Regions from separate parts of the Homo sapiens genome. Here region 2 is linked to region 1. Evidence: promoter capture Hi-C in human tissues and cell types (Jung and others, 2019). All regions are on one chromosome and are shown on one strand. The core of a region is centred on a gene start or on the middle of the fragment in contact, and the rest is flanking DNA. Distances in the headings are between cores, read along the strand shown.

The links. Contacts are between HindIII fragments. The study calls those that stand out against the background at their distance.
Region 2: a contact is called between a fragment that was not itself captured here and the fragment with the promoter of MRPL4 in region 1, in 1 of the 25 tissues and cell types used here (pancreas).

Annotation. Positions count from the first base shown.
Region 1 is chr19:10,249,595-10,253,903 of GRCh38, forward strand. MRPL4 (mitochondrial ribosomal protein L4) reads left to right here and starts at 2,620. Exons shown (of 9, transcript NM_015956.3): 1 at 2,620-2,716; 2 at 2,803-2,869; 3 at 2,957-3,107. The coding sequence starts at 2,660. RefSeq lists a silencer at 556-605 and enhancers at 1,975-2,548, 2,003-2,152, 2,283-2,692, 2,549-3,122. The HindIII fragment of the contact is 13,002 bases long and covers 1-4,309 here.
Region 2 is chr19:9,120,123-9,125,036 of GRCh38, forward strand. It overlaps the pseudogene OR7G15P. Among named protein-coding and RNA genes, the nearest start is that of OR7G3, 4.4 kb to the right of the region's middle. The HindIII fragment of the contact is 3,758 bases long and covers 420-4,177 here.

The DNA.
Region 1 (4,309 bases), core at 1,370-3,869:
TTTTTTGAGACAGGATCTTAGTCTGTCACCCAGGCTGGAGTACAGTGGCATGAACATGGCTCACTGCAGCCTCAATCTCTTGGGTTCAGGTGATCCTTCTGCCTTAGCCTCCCCATTAGCTGGGACCACAGGCATATACCATCACACCTAGCTAATTTTTAAATTTTTGGTAGAGGCCAGGCGCGGTGGCTCACGCCTGTAATCCCAGCACTTTGGGAGGCCGAGTCGGGTGGATCACCTGAGGTCGGGAGTTCGAGACCAGCCTGGCCAAAATGGTGAAACCCTGTCTCTACTAAAAATAAAAAATAAAAATAAAAATTAGCTGGGCGTAGTGGCGGGCGCCTGTAATCCCAGCTACTCGGGAGGCTGAGGCAGGAGAATCGCTTGAACCCAGGAGGCAGAGGTTGCAGTGAGCCAAGATCGCGCTACTGCACTCCAGCCTGGGCAACAGAGTGAGATTCTGTCTCAAAAAAAAAATAATAATAATGCTATTTATTGACTTTACACCTTGTACCAGGCATGGGAAGCTTTGCCTCCATTACGTCACTGAATCTCATAACCTCCTTTTCCAGCAGAGGAAAATGAGGTTGGTTCACAGACCACGTTGTCAGCTGTGCTCTGTCCAGAACGCACTGGCCTCCAAGTAGACAGCCCTGGACTGGTAGGGAAGCCGGCTATGATCCGGTGGCGCCCCCTGGAGGTCTATCGGGAACATGGTAAAGAACCTAAAAATGGGTGGGCCACAGTAGCTCATGCCTGTAATCCCAGCACTTTGGGGGACCAATGCGGGAGAATTGCTTGAGCCCAGGAGTTCAAGACCAGCCTGGGCAACATTGGGAGACCCACCCCCCGCCATCTCTACAAAAAAAAAATTAGGCCGGGCGCGGTGGCTCAGGCCTGTAATCCCAGCACTTTGGGAGGCCGAGGCGGGTGGATCACCTGAGGTCAGGAGTTCAAGACCAGCCTGGCCAACGTGGTGCCACACTGTCTCTAATAAAAACACGAAAATTAGGGCCGGGCTCGGTGGCTCACGCCTGTAATCCCAGCACTTTGGGAAGCCGAGGCGGGCGGATCACGAGGTCAGGAGATTGAGACCATCCTGGCTAACACGGTGAAACCCCCTCTCTACTAAAAATACAAAAAGTTAGCCAGGTGTGGTGGCGGGCGCCTGTAGTCCCAGCTACTCGGTAAGCTGAGGCAGGGAATCGCTTGAACCCGGGAGGCCGAGATGTGCGATCTCACACCACTGCACTCCGGCCTGGGCGACAGAGCGATACTCCATCTCAAAATACAAATACAAAATAAAAAAATACAATACAAAAATGAGCCGGGCTTGCGTACCTGTAGACCAGCTACTCAGGAGACAGAGGCAGGAGAATCCCTTGAGCTCTGGAGGTCGAGGCTGCAGTAAGCCATGATCTTGCCCATTGCACTCCAGCCTGGGCGACAGAGGAAGACCTTGTCTCTAAAAACCAAAACAAAGAAACTAAAAATAAGCATTCGGATTTGTTAGGGGGCGACAAGGGAGGCACTCCAGGATCTGTGGACTCCCCACTTTGTTCTGTCCTTGGAGAGCCCTGGAAGGTCTGAGAGGGGACGGGACCTGGTTTAAGGGGGTAGGGGAGAGGACCCTGGTCTAGGGGGTAAGGGACACAAATACCTAATCTGAGGGGTTTCGGGGGGACATGGCCCTGCCCTGGGGAATCTAAACTGGGAGGCATGGTCTGGCAGGCCCAATCCTGAAGGCTTTCTGAGGGCAATAAGGCCCTGCCTTTAAACAAATGAAAAAACGCCAGGCACGGTGGCTCACGCCTGTAATCCCAGCACTTTGGAAGGCTGAGGCGGGAGGATCACGAGGTCAGGAGATCGAGACCATCCTGGCTAACGCGGTGATACCCGTCTCTACTAAAAATACAAAAAATTAGCCAGGCGTGGTGGCGGGCGCCTGCAGTCCCAGCTACTCGGGAGGCTGAGGCAGGAGAATGGCGTGAACCCAGGAGGCGGAGCTTGCAGTGAGCCGAGATCGCGCCACTGCACTCCAGCCTGGGCAACAGAGCAAGACTCCGTCTCAAAAAAAACAAAAACAAAAACAAAAACAAAAACAAAAAAACAAATAAAAAAACAAAACCACATAACTGGATAAAGAAAAAACCATCTCCGACAGCCTTGGAGGCGGGATGAAGGCGTGGCCCGGTGGGCGTGACCAACAGCAAAAGTTTAAGCGTTATTGGCTGTATTCCTTAGTTGCTCACTCCAGAACTGCCCACTTATGGGCGGGGGTCACTCCTTCAGGCTTAACAGTCATTGGCTGAATTGGGCCAGAGAGGTCTCATTGGCTGAATTCCTGCACCGGCTCGTCGGAGGCGGGACCCAAAGTAGGCTAGGCCTACGGAAGCTGGGTCTTCTTGCTGTGAGGTCGCGTTCCCCAGTGTTACGGAGGGTCCTTGAGGCAGGAGTGAAAATTGGGTCTGGGGGTTAGTCCTGGGGTGGAGGTCTGGGCACGCCGGGTCGGACCCCCTCCATCTTCGGTTTTGCACACCCCGCTTTCCAGCGCGGAGTCGCGGCGGGTAGGGCGGCGTCGCGTGCGTGACGTCATCCAGCGGCGCCTCGCGAGGCTCCAGTGGCCTTGACCTCCCGCGGCGTGGGAGGCTGCGCGGCGATGCTGCAGTTCGTCCGGGCCGGGGCGCGGGCCTGGCTTCGGCCTACCGGCAGCCAGGTGAGGCCAGGGGCTGGAGGCGTGGTCGAAGGATGAAATTTGGGGGTGTCCAGGGGTCGTCTCTCACTTTCGCCCAACCCTTGCAGGGCCTGAGTTCCCTGGCGGAAGAGGCAGCGCGTGCGACCGAGAACCCGGAGCAGGTGGCGAGCGAGGGTAAGGCAACCGGGGTGGCTCCAGGAGGGGCGGCGACAGAGAGGTCTGACCCTTGACCCTAACCTCTGACCCCCGCAATCGCTCCAGGTCTCCCGGAGCCCGTGCTGCGCAAAGTCGAGCTCCCGGTACCCACTCATCGACGCCCAGTGCAGGCCTGGGTCGAGTCCTTGCGGGGCTTCGAGCAGGAGCGCGTGGGCCTGGCCGACCTGCACCCCGATGTTTTCGCCACCGCGCCCAGGTGAGCGAGGGCTGTAATGGTGAACTGAGTGGCAGAGGGATGAAGAGCGGGATTTCAGGAGTCACGATGACTTTGGGCTTGTACCCTTGGGAAAGTGCTGTATTTCTACAGCCTCCGTTTCTCCACCTGTCAAAGGGGAATGATGACAGTTTCCCCTGCTGTAGCGCTGTGTGAGATTGAAGCCTGAGAGGTGACATCATCTAAGGGTTAGGGAGACAGAATTCTGGAGCCCGACTGATTAGGTTCAAATCCTGCCTTCCCCTCTTGTCCCTCAGTGTCCCTATTTTGTCAGCGGTCGGGAGGTTGCTGTGATGAATAAATGACTTAATTCTGGCACATAATAAGTTCTATAGAAATGTTGATAATCTTTGTTAACTGGTTTTTGCAAATAAGAGCACTAAAAAGACTAAACCATTCCTCGGTGCCTGGAAGAGGCTGTTTGCATTTTAGTTACCCTGCTGTTCATAACATCTCTAAGAAAATGTAGGGGCCACCCTGGGCGCAGTGGCTCACGCCTGTAATCCCAGCACTTTGGGAGGCCAAGGCGGGCGGATCACGAGGTCAGGAGATCGAGACCATCCTGGCTAACATGGTGAAACCCCGTCTCTACTAAAAATACAAAAAAAAATTAGCCGGGCGTGGTGGCGGGCGTCTGTAGTCCCAGGTACTCTGGAGGCTGAGGCAAGAGAATGGCGTGAACCCGGGAGGCGGAGCTTGCAGTGAGCCGAGATCGCGCCACTGCACTCCATCCTGGGCAACACTCTGTCTCAAAAAAAAAAAAAAAAAAGAAAGAAAAGAAAATGTAGGGGCCAGTTACTGTGGCTCACATCTGTAATCCCAGCACATTGGGAGGCCGAGGTGGGCGGATCACTTGAAACCAGGAGTTGCAGACCAGCCTGGCCAACATGATGAAACCCCGTCTCTACCAAAAATACAAAAATTAGCCGGACGTCTTAGTGCAAGCCTGTAGTCCCAGCTACTCAGGAGGCTGAGGCATGAGAATCGCTTGCACCTGGGGAGATGGAGGTTGCAGTGAGCCGTGATTATACTACTGCACTCCAGCCTGGGCGACAGAGACAGACTCCATCTCAAAAAAAAAAACAGGTGAAATTGATTTCAATAATGTATTTAACCTGTATTTAAAACTATGTCGAAATCACATTGTAGCATGGGGCACTGGCCATGTTTCAGATGTTGAGTAT
Region 2 (4,914 bases), core at 1,049-3,548, 1.1 Mb before region 1:
GTTTAAGTTCCTTAAAGATGCTGGATATTAGACCTTCATCAGATGGATAGATTGCAAAAATTTTCTCCCATTCTGTAGGTTGTTTGTTCACTGTGATGATAGTTTCTTTCGCTGTTTAGAAGCTCTCTAGTTTAATTAGATCCCATTTGCCAATTTTTGCTTTTGTTGCAGTTGCTTTTGGTGTCTTCATCATGAAATCTTTGCTCGTGCCTATGTTCTAAATGGTATTACCTAGGTTGTCTTCTGGGGTATTTATAGTTTTGGGTTTTACATTTAAGTCTTTAATCTGTCTTAAGTTAATTTTTGTATATAATTTAAGGAAGGGGTACAGTTTCAATCTTCTGCATATGGCTAGCCAGTTATCCCAGCACCATTGATTGAGTAGGGAATCCTTTTCCCATTGCTTGTTTTTGTCAGGTTTGTCAAAGATCAGATAGTTGAAGGTGTGCGGTCTTATTTCTGGGTTCTCTATTCCGTTCCATTGGTCTATTTGTCTGTTCTTGTACAAGAACCATGCTGTTTTGATTACTGTAGCCCTGTAGTGTAGTTTGGAGTCAGATAGTGTGATGCCTCCAGCTTTGTTCCTTTTGCATAGGGTTATCTTGGCTATTCAGGATTTTTAAAAAACAGTTATTTCTAGAAATCATTTTAAAAGAGAGTAAAATCTTTTTCTGGAGGTGTGTAAGCTACTTCAGTTGCTTCTTGGATGTGAGCCTTTGGTTGTAGCTATTTTTTGATAAATTTTCTCTGTTTTTTTCTTGGTTGTTACTGGCACTACTATTACATGAATATTTATGATTATGTCACACTAAAATATGTCTTTGAACCAGAAATTAATAAAAGTTTTCTCATCTTATTGCTTTATCACATTGAAAGTCACAAAAATTAGTTTTATTTCTATTTCTGGTTCTCCAGCCTGGGCAACACAGCAAGATTGTGTCTCTAAAACCAAAATAAAGAAAAAATTGAAATGTTCAGAGACTCAGAAAGGGAAAAGTCATGAGGCAAGTGTTCAGATACCACCTTGGGGAAAGTTTGCTGACTCTGTGGAAAGTGAGCAGGAAATGAAGTAGCGTTAAGGGTAGAATGTGTTGTCCCAGGGTTGATAAGAAATGTGGTGGTGGTCGGCCTGGTGACTCAGGCCTGTAATCCCAGCACGTTGGGAGGCCGAGGCGGGAGAATCTCTTGATCCCAGGAGTTCGAGATCACCCTGGCCAACATGGCGAAACCCCGTCTCTACTAAAAATAGAAAAAAATTAGCTGGGCGTGGTGATGCTTGCCTGTAATCCTTGTTACTCCGGAGACTGAAGCATGAGAATTGCTTGAACCTAGGAGGCGGAGGCTACAGTGAGCCGAGACTGCACCACTGCACTCCAGCCTGGGTGACAGAACAGACTCTGTCTCAAAAAAAAAAAAAAAAGAAAGAAAGAAAAAGAAAAAGAAAAAGAGAAAAACTGAGCTTGGAGAATGGAACTAATTTTTTTTTATTATTTATTTTTAATTTTTATTTATTTATTTATTTATTTTGAGACGGAGTCTCGCTCTGTCGCCCAGGCTGGAGTGCAGTGCGGCATCTCAGGTCACTGCAAGCTCCGCCTCCTGGGTTCACGCCATTCACCCGCTTCAGCCTCCCAAGTAGCTGGGACTACGGGTGCCCGCCACCACGCCCGGCTAATTTTTTGTATTCTTATTCGAGACGGGGTTTCACCGTGTTAGCCAGGATGGTCTCGATCTCCTGACCTCGTGATCCTCCCGCCTCGGCCTCCCAAAGTGCTGGGATTACAGACGTGAGCCACCGCGCCCGGCCGTGGAACTCGTTTTCGTACAATCACAGAGCTACACACAAAGAACAAGTGATGTTTCAACCCCAAGTTAAAATGTACTTACCCACTATGTTATCTAATCATTTTAGAAAACTCAGTGATAGATCAGTCAGGCATTCTGGCTCACCAGTATTTCTGTGTCTTTGACCCACTTTGAATCCCAAGTCCAAAGTGGACAACATAATCAGGAAGAGAAGTTATCCTACCAATGAGTTTCCCCGAGGCTCTCTTCATATCTCTGTTCCTCAGGCTGTAGATAAAGGGGTTCATAATAGGTGTGACCACTGTGTACATCACTGAAGCCACCGCAGCCCTCCTTGAAGAGTCAGAAACGGCAGAGCTAATGTACACCCCCCAACCCGCCCTGTAGAATCGGGAAACAAATGGGAGGTGAGACTCACAGCTGAAAAAAGCTTTATTACTTGCTGACGGCATTCTCAAAACAGACAAGGCTATTTGAGAATAAGAAAACATGACCCCAGAGAGAAGAATATCACCAAATATGCAAGTTGCAAAATAGACCAGAAAGTTATTTTTATTTATTTATTTTTATTGTTTTTTTTTTTTTTTTTTTGAGTCGGAGTCTCCCTCTGTCACCCAAGCTGGAGTGCAGTGGCATGATCTCGGCTCACTGCAACCTCCGCCTCCCAGGTTCAAGTGATTCTCCTGCCTCAGCCTCCTGAGTAGCTGGGACTACAAGCAAGCGTCACCACACCCGGATAATTTTTGTATTTTTAGTAGAGACAGTGTTTCACCATGTTGGGCAGGCTGGTCTTGAACTCCTAACCTCGTGATCCACCCGCCTCGGCCTCCCAAAGTGCTGGGATTACAGGCATCAGCCACCGTGCCTGACTGCAGTAGCCATTATTTTATTCTGATTTTATGAGATCAGCTCTTTTGGATTCTACACATGGTTGAGATCATGCAGTATTTGTCTTTCTGTACCTGGCTTATTTCACTTAGCATAATGTTCTCCAGGTTCCTCCATGTTGTGGCGAATGACAGAATTTCCTTCTTTTTAAAGGGTGCATAGTACTCTATCATATACCACATTTTCTTTTTCTTTTCCAGACAAAGTCTCACTCTGTTGCCCAGGCTAGAGTGCAGTGGTGCGATCTCGGCTCACTGCAACCTCCGCCTCCTGGGTTCAAGTGATTCTCCTGCCTCAGCCTCCTGAGTAGCTGGGATTACAGGCATACGTCATCATGCCTGGCTAATTTTTGTATTTTTAGTGGAGACACGGTTTCACCATGTTGGCCAGGCTAGTCTTGAACTCCTGACCTCAAGTAATCTACCTACCTCAGGCTCCCAAAGTGCTGGGATTACAGGCGTGAGCCACCGTGCCTGCCATACCACATTTTCTTTATCCACTTATATGTTGATGGACATTCAGGTTGATTACATTTCCTGGCTATTGTGACTAATACTGCAATGAACATGAGAGTGCAGATATCTCTTCAGCATATTGATTTCAATTCCTTTGAAATTCAACAGCACAAACATAAATCAATATAACTATAGATAGTCAACCTAAATAACAGAAAGAGGCTATCTAAAAGAAAATGATGTTTATTGCCAAAGAAAGCATTGCAATAGCGATACGCGTGCCATCATAAACTATGTATGCATTCAAGGAGGTAAAGGAAGACAAAGTTTTTTAATGGAAAAATGAGGAAGGTTACATAATTGTTTTGAAATAATTATCCTTCACAGTAATAACTAATAACAAGGGTGATGCCAGTCTGAAGCTGGACAGGCAGTTGCTGGGCAGATGTACTTGCAGAAATATTTTTTGTGTAAGGTTGCAACAGCCTTTTGTGCAAGGTTGTGGTTTTTGTCGTCTCGTGATAGTTTTTGTCGTCTCGTGATAGTTTTTGTAGTCTTGTGATAGTTTTTGTTATTAGGCATGCAAGTGAAATAAATCTCTTCATGGCCTTCCCTAGCTTTACTTGTCAGGATGTTTTTGTTTTTTTCATTTTTGTTTGTTTGTTTGTTTTTCATGAGATGGAGTCTTGCTCTGTCGCCCAGGCTGGAATGCAGTGGTGCGATCTTGGCTCACTGCAACCTCCGCCTCCCAGGTTCAAGCGATTCTCATGCCTCAGCCTCCTGAGTAGCTGGGATTACAGATATGCGCCACAACGTCTGGCTAATTTTTGTATTTTTCATAGAGATGGGGTTTCACCATGTTGGCCAGGCTGGTCTCGAACTCCTGACCTTGTGATCCGCCCACTTCAGCCTATCAAAGTGCAGACTTTTTTGATAGCCGCTACACCCAGCCTTTTTTTTTTTTAATAAGTGACTCCATTTTGATTCTGACAATTTTAACAATATATATACCAAGTACAGTCAGCCTTCCATATCTGCCAGTACCACATTCATGGACTCAACCAACTGTGGATCAAAAATATTAAAAATATTAAAGAAAATTTTAAAAATATTAAATAAGAATATTACAAAAATACAATATTAAGTAATACAACTATTTACATAGGATTAACATTATGCTAGGTAATATAAGTAATCTAGAAATGATTTAAAGTATAGGCGACCTGGGCACAGTGGCTCACACTGCTTAATCCCAGCACTTTGGAAGGCTGAGGCAGAAGGATTGTTTGAGGCCAGGAGTTTGAGGCTGCAGTGAGTTATAATCACACCACTGTAGTTCAACCTCGGCAACAGAGCAAGGCTCTCTCTAAAAAAGAAATTAATCATTTAATATTAAAATTAAAAATTAATTACTTGATTTTTAAATTGTAAATAAATTACTTAATTTTTAAATTAAAAATAAATTAGCTAGCTGGGCATGGTGGCTCATGCCTGTAATCCCAGCACTTTGGGAGGCTGAGGCGGGCAGATTACCTGAGGTCAGGAGTTCAAGGCCCGCCTGGCCAACATGGTGAAACTCTGTCTCTACTAAAAATACAAAAATGAGCCAGGCACAGTAGCAGGCGCCTGTAATCCCAGCTATTCAGGAGGCTGAGGCAGGAGAATCGCTTGAGCCCCAGAGGTGGAGGTTGCAGTAAGCCGAAATTGAGCCACTGCACTCTAGACTGGGCGACAGAGCAAGACTCTGTCTCAATAAATAAATAAA